Linked DNA regions of Homo sapiens: all the other regions are linked to region 1. Evidence: promoter capture Hi-C in 16 types of primary human blood cells and fetal thymus (Javierre and others, 2016). All regions are on one chromosome and are shown on one strand. The core of a region is centred on a gene start or on the middle of the fragment in contact, and the rest is flanking DNA. Distances in the headings are between cores, read along the strand shown.

Evidence for each region. The method cuts DNA at HindIII sites, captures the fragments that hold promoters and counts their contacts. A CHiCAGO score of 5 or more calls a contact.
Region 2: a fragment that was not itself captured here is called in contact with the fragment with the promoter of SURF4 in region 1 in 2 of 17 cell types (activated CD4 T cells and naive CD8 T cells); the score reaches 6.4 in activated CD4 T cells.
Region 3: a contact is called between a fragment that was not itself captured here and the fragment with the promoter of SURF4 in region 1, in 2 of 17 cell types (naive CD8 T cells and total CD8 T cells). The highest score is 5.7, in naive CD8 T cells.

The regions. Positions count from the first base shown.
Region 1 is chr9:133,374,810-133,377,509 of GRCh38, forward strand. It overlaps SURF4 (surfeit 4), which reads right to left and starts at 1,251. Exons shown (of 6, transcript NM_033161.4): 1 at 1,113-1,251. The coding sequence starts at 1,160. It overlaps STKLD1 (serine/threonine kinase like domain containing 1), which reads left to right and starts at 1,557. Exons shown (of 18, transcript NM_153710.5): 1 at 1,557-1,751. The coding sequence starts at 1,665. RefSeq lists silencers at 676-955, 966-1,205, 1,296-1,795. The HindIII fragment of the contact is 2,219 bases long and covers 293-2,511 here.
Region 2 is chr9:133,117,560-133,120,381 of GRCh38, forward strand. The region is part of intron 1 of RALGDS (ral guanine nucleotide dissociation stimulator); the gene reads right to left. Among named protein-coding and RNA genes, the nearest start is that of RALGDS, 2.3 kb to the right of the region's middle. RefSeq lists an enhancer at 2,585-2,822. The HindIII fragment of the contact is 703 bases long and covers 1,144-1,846 here.
Region 3 is chr9:133,026,468-133,029,192 of GRCh38, forward strand. It overlaps LOC105376306 (a long non-coding RNA gene), which reads right to left. Exons shown (of 2, transcript NR_135119.1): 2 at 1,685-1,964. Among named protein-coding and RNA genes, the nearest start is that of GTF3C5, 3.2 kb to the right of the region's middle. The HindIII fragment of the contact is 1,244 bases long and covers 806-2,049 here.

The sequences.
Region 1 (2,700 bases), core at 1-2,500:
TTTTTTAAACCACACATATACAAGCCTTCCGATAAGTCTAGGCCTCAGAGTTTGATGACTCACTACCACCTCCAGAAAAATTTAAAAATTTAACCATCACTACTTAAAACTCTAGCAAAGCCACACGAACACATTAAGTAAACCGAGGAAAAAACGGCAAGTGGGCCACACAAGGCTCTCCCTGCGGGGATAAGGCTGTTAATTTGTCGACATAACGGGATTCTTTTAGAAGTAAAAGGCATAAATCTGCGTAACCACCACCACCTTTTGTTTTTGTTTTTTTGTTCTGTCAAGCTTAATCAAGAAAGAGGGAAGGGAGTTGTGTCCCTTCACTTTGTAGGATCGGATCCTGTCCACCCAGTTCCCGAATGCTCTCAACAGTTACCCAACCGCCTGTTTCAAAGGCTTCCCTGTTGCTCAGAATGCCACCTGGACACTTCTGGAAGGAGACTATCAGGGAGATAGGCTTCCCCTCCTCCCAGGCTGTGTACAGGTCCCCACTCAATCCAGCCCAGGGCAGAGTCCAAACGGGGAGGGAGACGCAGACAGGGTCAAAGGGACCCCAAGAGTCCAGCACATCTGGGAAAGAGAAAAGGAAAAGGTGCTGTGGCTTCCTGTAGCTGGGGCGCACGCCAGCGCGCCCCCTTTCCTCTGGGAGGACCCCCGGCCCCCGTTCGTCCCCGAGCTCCCAGCCCGCCTCCGGGAGCCCCAGTGAGAGGAAAAACGTGCGGGGACCCCCCAGCAGCTCCAAACGCCGAGGCGCTCCCCGCGAGCCTCAGACCCGACCCAACGCCAGGACTCGCGCCGCCGGCCCGGGAAGAAACCCCCACAGCCCGCGCCCCGGGCTGGCTGGAGGGTGGGGGCGGCTAGCCAGGCAGGGCGCCGAGGCCCGGGCTCCGGGAGCGGCCCAGCGGGCAGGGGAGACTGGGCCCGGAGGCCGGGTTTGGGGCTGTCCAGCCGGGACAGAGGGCCCGGGCGGGGGGGTCCCCCTGTGGGAACAAGGAGTCAGGGGGCGGCCCGGGCCTGGCGCCCTGCGCTGGGAGGCCGACTCCGGAGCGGCCCGGGCGGCCTGGGTCGGGACCGGGGCCGGGGGAGGAGCCCGCAGGCCGCACCTGGTCGGCGAAGTCCTCGGCCGTGCCCATCAGGTCGTTCTGGCCCATGGCGACGGCGGGAGGCTCGGCTCGGCTCGCTCGCTCGCTCGCTGGCTCTCGCCCGTCGGCGCCCGCACCCGCTGCGGCCTCCACAGGAAGTGCCCGGCGGCCGGCCTCGCTCCGCGTCGGCTGCGGCTCCAGCGGCTGCCACGTAGGCCAAGCCTTAAAGGGGCCGCGCGCCGCCCGGGCCCGCCCCGGTGCGTCTTAAAGGGGCCACGCGCCATCCCCAGCCTCCCGACCCATCCGCTCGAAGCCACGCCCGCCGCGCTCGACGCCACGCCTCTCACGCTGGAGGCCCCGCCCGCCGCGCGCAGGCCCTGCGGTCCCTCCCGGCCCGGCGGAACGCGTCCCTTTTAAGGGGGCGGGGACCTGGGGGTCTGGGGCCAGCGCGCGGGAGGGACGCCTGAGTGCCTCGAGGGCGCCGTTCGGGCGGGGAGGATCCCGCGGGTCCCACTGACCCACGCGGGGTGGGGCCAGGGGTGGACGCTCGCCCGTACGCGGTCGCTACTGATCATGCTTGGGCCAGGGTCCAATCGCAGGCGCCCCACGCAGGGGGAGCGAGGCCCAGGGTCCCCCGGAGAGCCCATGGAGAAGTACCAGGTGCCGAGTGTTCCCTGCGGGGAGGCGGGAGCTCCGTGGGGTAACGGTCGCAACCCTGGAGCTACGGCCGGCGGTTCCGACCGAGGGCGGCGAGGGGCCCGCGCCCTGGCCAGTGTCGGCCTGCAGCTCCTAGGTTGAACCCGGGGGGCCTCCAACGGTGACCTCCTGGGTGCCCTTTGCCACTCAGTTTCCCCCTTTGTGAATTGACTAAGGATTCTCCAGCCCTGGCTGAGTATTTGAGGGCGTGGGGCAGCTCCTCTATCCTTCGTGCCTGGGGTCTGTGCGCTTGGGTCCACCGAGGCAGGACCCCCGGGAACATCCCGAGTACATAATTGGGAGCCCCCAGTCCCCTAAAAACACCCCTGCAGCGTGGGTCTGTGAAAATGTTTGAGACCTAAAAAATTCACAAAACACAAAAGGAAAGCTGCAAAATAAAAGTAAATGTTTAATTAAATGCTTCTATACATGATATATACACTTTATTAAATGTTAGATTCAGCATTTGTGAAAAATGCATTCGCTTGGAAACAGTTTGCGGGTTAGATTTTTGTCACTTTGGAAGAATTGTCTTTGTGTGAGAGGACTATAGGGCGTTGCCAGAGGTGAAGCAGATGAGCTTCTGGTGGCCAGATAATTTTTAAAGTAAAGTTGTTTTTCAGATTAAAAAAAAATAGACGTTTCAGGAATATACCTGCTTTTGGAAAAAAAAATAGACTTGATTCGAGATACGGCTCCATTTTACTGTTTAATTTGCTGCCTAAGCTTGAACGCTCTCACACCAGCTCTGCCCTCAGCCCGCTGTGGCTTAGAACAGCAGTCCCTGGCCGGGCTCGGTGGCTCACGCCTGTAATCCCCAACACTTTGGGAGGCCAAGGCGGGCGGATCACCTGAGATCGGGAGTTCAAGACCAGCCTGACCAACATGGAGAAACTGTCTCTACTAAAAATAC
Region 2 (2,822 bases), core at 245-2,744, 260 kb before region 1:
GTGTGCGGAACTGGGAGAATTGGGTCTGCTCAAAGCTCAGCTTGTCCTGCATGAGGCTGCATGCATCAGTGTCTGCCCCTTAACAATCAAATGGGGAACACTGCTCTGCTGTTGCTGTATATCTGGGAACACAGTGATTCTGGGCCTGCAAGGCTGGAAGTCCAACCCTGGGACTGGGTGGCCACAGCATGGTGGCACCACGCCATGGGAGCCATCTGGGCGGCCAACCAGCAGCTCTTGGGAACCAGTCCTTGACTGCCTGGGTGCAGCTTCCTGAAACCGCTCCACTGGCTCGTTCAGAGCCTGCCTGCAGAGGGCCAGTGATAAATCTCCCCACTCTTTTCTCATTGGCAACGCAGACAGGTCCTGGAAATGCCCAATTTCCAGGTTAAGAATCAGACCCCAGCTCTGGCAACGAGCAGCTTGATATCTCCCAGGGCCATTCCTGAGCCTCCCGGGAAACAGGCCAGCATGCCTGAGCATCCCCCGCCTGGAGAAGGAACAAAGACCCAGGACCAGCCAGCCTGGTCCCCCTCTTCTGGGGGACCCTCCCGAGTAGAGCAAGAGGGGAACCTGAGGGTCCTGGGGGCTGCCCCTTCAGAGTCACCCAGGAAGCTCTCCTGGAAGACCACAGTCTGTACACATGCATGCAGGGACACACACCCACACAGGGACAGGCCCTTTGCCTTGGGGTCTTCAGTGTCAAAGTGCTCATGAGCCCTGGGGATTAAACCGAAGACCTGCACACAGTGTGATCAAGAGATCAAACAGTGGGAAGACGCGGGAGGCTGAAGGGAGATGCTCCCTGTGAATACAGAGAAGCCCTCTTCACTCCAGCCCACCTGCAACTGCCCTCAGGCCTTGGGTCAGAATCCTGGCCCTGCCACTGACCAGCTTGGTCACTCTGTGCAATCTAATTCACCTCTGTTGCCTCAGTGACTTTATCTGTCAAGTGAGCTCTTAACAGTCTTGACCCCAAAAGGAGATGATGCAAATTACTTAGCCAAGGACCTCCCCAAAACCTGCTGGCTCTTATTAGCTGTTATCTTAAACCTGTGGGGTCCAGTTCTGGGCTTGCTTCCTCCAGGTAGCTCTCCCCAGCGTCCTGTGGCCCAAAGCACTTTTGCCTTCCTCTGAGCCATAAGCTTCCCTACTGCTCACCTGACCTCAGGGCTTCTGGGCTGCCTGGGCTTCCTCTGACTCCTGGTGGCTCCTGCACACAGTAGGTGCCACAGAGAACACAGCCCATGCTTAAATCCTGGCTGCGGCCCTTGCTGGCTGCACGGGTGTTTAGGTCAGAGACTTCCCTTCTCTGACCCCCTAGCTTCCTAGAAGGTGGTGTTGGCACCTACTCTGTAGGGTTGGTCTAAGGCAGATGAAGTGAGGGGGTGGCCCACAACCTGCACTTTTTGTCTGGCCAAAGCAACAGCCTGTCCAGAGATGGGGGCACGGACCAGGTCACCTCCAGAAAGCAAGAACTGTGCAGGCCAAGCTGGGTCATTGGTGGCTTGGCTTAGAATCGGGAAGATAAGCGGAAGCCCAGATGTGAGGAGATCTGGCAGCCCAGAGGGAAGCACCGGGTGGAAGCTAGGTAGGGAAACAGGGATGCGGGGGAAGGCAGAAACTGTCTGGTGGTTTCCAGAGAGGACAGGGACCAAGTGCGCAGCGTCAGCTCTGGCAGGCCACATAGACACCAGGAAACCAGCCCCAGGACGGGGGGTGTTGGCAGGAGGGACAGGGACTTCCCCGCCCCCTCCCTTGGGCCCTTGGTAAATGGTCATTGTGTTCAGTTTCCGGCAGTGGCCTCCTCTCCTGCCAGGATCCTGGTTTTCCTGACCCAGCCAGAAGCTTCCCCTTTGATTTCTAAATAGCAGTCGAGGTCTGGATCTCAGTGCTGAGGCTGGGCAAGGAGCGCCAGGGCCAGAGAGAGGGAAGACAAGACCCCCAGGCAGGGGTGGGGCTCAGCTCTGCCTCTCCCTCAGTTCCTCAGGGACGGAGAGAGGGAACCTGCACGGCCACTGTGAGCGCTCCGCCGGACCCTCCCAGCACACAAAGCCCGAGCTGCTGCCAGAGGTAATGAAAGCCAGATGAGCGCTGGGCTGGTGTCAGCCTCCCACCCCCACCCTCCCAGGGGTCCCTCTCCAGCCGCCAATGAGGACCAGAGCCCTGGATAGATGAGGGTTGAGGGAACACGTCTGGTCCGGCCATCTGCCAAGCTCAGGAGGAAAGGGTCTCTCAGGCGTGTGGTGTTCCCCCACCAAGAGCTCTGCCCAACACTGGGCGGAGAAACAAGTCGCATCCAGGCCCTGTCTAGGTACCGGGACACCAAGAGGCACGAGACTCAGGCTAACAATCGCCAGCAATCACAACGCGCCACAGTCTAAAGCCATGAAGCGACTGGAGACGCAGCAAGGCAACACGATGCCGCACGGGGACTCAGGAGGTTCACTGTGAAGGCTGCAGCCCAGCCAAAGCTCTGATGGGCCCTGAGCCCCCGATCCAGGAATGGCCTCTGTGCAGGCCCTGTGCCCAGGCAGAGCAGGGCGAGGGGGGCATCTCTGGATTCCACTCCCTCTGCTGTGTAGTCAGCAGCAGTCAGGTGGGAGGCAGATGGCACCACCCAGAGACCCAGGGCACACGAGAAACAAGCCCCCGCCCTCACCTAGTCACCCTCCCCTCCATCCATCACAGGTACACCACTCCCTTCTCTGAATCCTACCCAGTCCTTACCGATTCAGGGTGTTGGCACTCTTTCCAGTTAAGCAGAAACAAGTCTTGCCCGCCCTGGGCCTGGGCCACCCTCCTCCCCTCACCACCAGGAC
Region 3 (2,725 bases), core at 178-2,677, 350 kb before region 1:
CTGAGAAGTTCAAGGACACGGTGGCAGCATCTGCTAAGGGTCTTTGCATTCTTGCTGTGCCATAACATGGTGGAGGGCACATATGCAAGAGGGCAGGAGAGAGAGAGCCGGAGAGAGCTTGCCTCTATAACAAAGAGATAAGCAACTCACTCCCACAACAGCGACATTAATCCATGCATGAGGGCAGAGCCAACATTAATTTATTCATGAGGGCAGACAAATTAAGTTTCCAACACATGAAATTTGGGGGACATTTTCAAACCATAGCATATGCCCTGAATCCAGGCAGAGAAAGTGTCCCCTCAGTGCACAAATATTGTCACAGCTGCCTGCTCTGAATGCTGCAAGGTTTTGGAGAACGTTAAAGCTACTTCTTTTTTTTTTTTTTTTTTTTTTTTTGAGATGGAGTCTCACTCTGTCACTCAGGCTGGAGTGCAGTGGCATGATCTCTGCACACTGCAACCTCTGCCTCCTGGGATCAAGCGAGACTCCTGCCTCAGCCTCCCGAGTAGCTGAGATTACAGGCATGTGCTACCACATGTGGCTAATTTTTGTATTTTTAGTAGAGATGGGGTTTCACTATGTTGGCCAGGCTGGTCTCGAACTCCTGACCTCAAGTGATCCACCCGCCTTAGCCTCCCAAAGTGCTGGGATTACAGGCATGAGCCACCGCTCCCAGCCAAAGCTACTTTTTAACTGGGTTCCTGATCTTTCTTGGCCTGTCTCTGCTCCCAGCCTTGCCTTACTGCTCCTGCCTCTGACCTCCCGCTTTGGATCTCAGGCAGGACCAAGTCTAATCTCAAAAAGCTTGGTCTGATGCCCTGGGGTTGGTCCCTTGTCTTCCCCTCACACTCAGCCCCTCCTCACTTCCTGTGCACTAAGGGACACTCCTTGTCTGACAAGCCTTGATTTAGTGTCCCTATGACCATGCCCTGACCCGGGGCTCGATTGAAGGCTCAAATAAGACAAGTGGCCTCATTCAGTTGTTCAATAAATACTTCCTGAGCACCTGCTCGGTGCTCAGCCCCATGCAAAGCAGTGGTGACAGTGGGAAGACAGTGGTGAATAAGACAGACATGGTCCCTGTCTTCAGAAAGTTGCCACTCAAGTGGAGAAGTAAAAAAGAAAAAAAATAATAGTGCTTCCGGCTCCATGATGCAGTGGGTTTGGGGCCCCGGGCAGCGAGGATGGCACCAAACTAGTGTTTTGGGGTCAGGGAGGATTTACCAGGCAAATTGAAGTCTAAGGCAACAACCTAAAGGAGAGGAGTAGTTAGCCAGGTGGTGGGCCAGGGATGCTGGGGAGTCACTGGAGGCAGGGACAGACTGCGATCTCATTCTGGAAAGATCACTCTTGCTTCAGTAAGGAGGAAAAATACAGCAGACAAACTAGAGGGTCACTGGATTGCATGGTGGGCTCACTAAGGTTCCAGGTGGTTTGGAATCAGCTTTCCAAATTCAGAAACTCAATCTCAATACCCGGAGGTGGGAGTGCCATATTTAGCAAATTAAAAAATCACCTAGCTAAATATGAATCTCAGATAACACATATTTAGTATAAATATGCCCCAAATATTGCATGAATTCAAATTTAACTGTGTTCAATATTTTATTGGCCAACTCTACCAACAGTGACCAAGTCTTCATGACTGTCTTATGTGCACCAAACTCACAGGGATCTGATGTAAATACACCAATTTATTGATTTACAATTGCAGGCAAGGTTAAAATATACATGTTATTCAGTTTCTCCTTTCTGGAAAATGAAACAGTCAGAAGACTGGTGAACATGGAATGAGGACAAAAGGACACAAGGAAGTTTGAAAGGAAATTTCATCTCAAGGCATGGTAAATTCTGGAGAATCATCCTGGCCTCCCTACAGAGAATCCTCTTTGGTGGCAGAAAGTGCAGGTCCCCCCTGGAGAGGGCAGGTCAGGGACCACCGGGTCCTCGTGTGCAGCTCCCTGTGGAAACACGTGGTTCTTCTAGCTCAACCATCATCTGCTGGTGGTTGATTTCCCACTGTACTCTCAGGAGGTGTTCTTTCAAAGCTTTGGGGCTCCTGACCCAGCCTTCCAATTACAATACAATATATTTCACATTGAGGTTACACTTTAGAATGTATTCAGTGGGCTGAATTCATGTAGCTATTTATTCTGCCTTCTTAAACCCAAGGAGAGCAATCAGGTACTCTTCTGATTAAGAAATCACAGGCTGGGCACGGTGGCTCACGCCTGTAATCTCAGCATTTTGGGAGGCCGAGGTGGGCAGATCATGATGTCAGGAGATCGAGACCATCCTGGCCAACATGGTGAAACCCCATCTCTACTAAAAATACAAAAATTAGCTGGGCGTGGTGGCGCATGCCTATAATCCCAGCTACCCGGGAGTTTGAGGCAGGAGAATCGCTTATACCAGGGAGTCGGAGGTTGCAGTGAGCCGAGATTGTGCTACTGCATTCCAGCCTGGTGACAGAGTGAGGCTCTGTCTCAAAACAAACAAACAACAAAAAGAAATGACTTTAGGCAACATAGTGAGACCCCGTCGCCACACACACACAAATACAAAATTAGTCGGGTATGGTGGTGCACGCCTGTAGTCCCAACTACTCAGGAGGCTGAGGCAGGAGGATCACTTGAGCCCAGGAGTTCGGGGCTGCAGTGAGCCATGATCACACCACTACACTCCAGCCTGGGTGACAGAGGGAGATCGTGTCTTTCAAAAA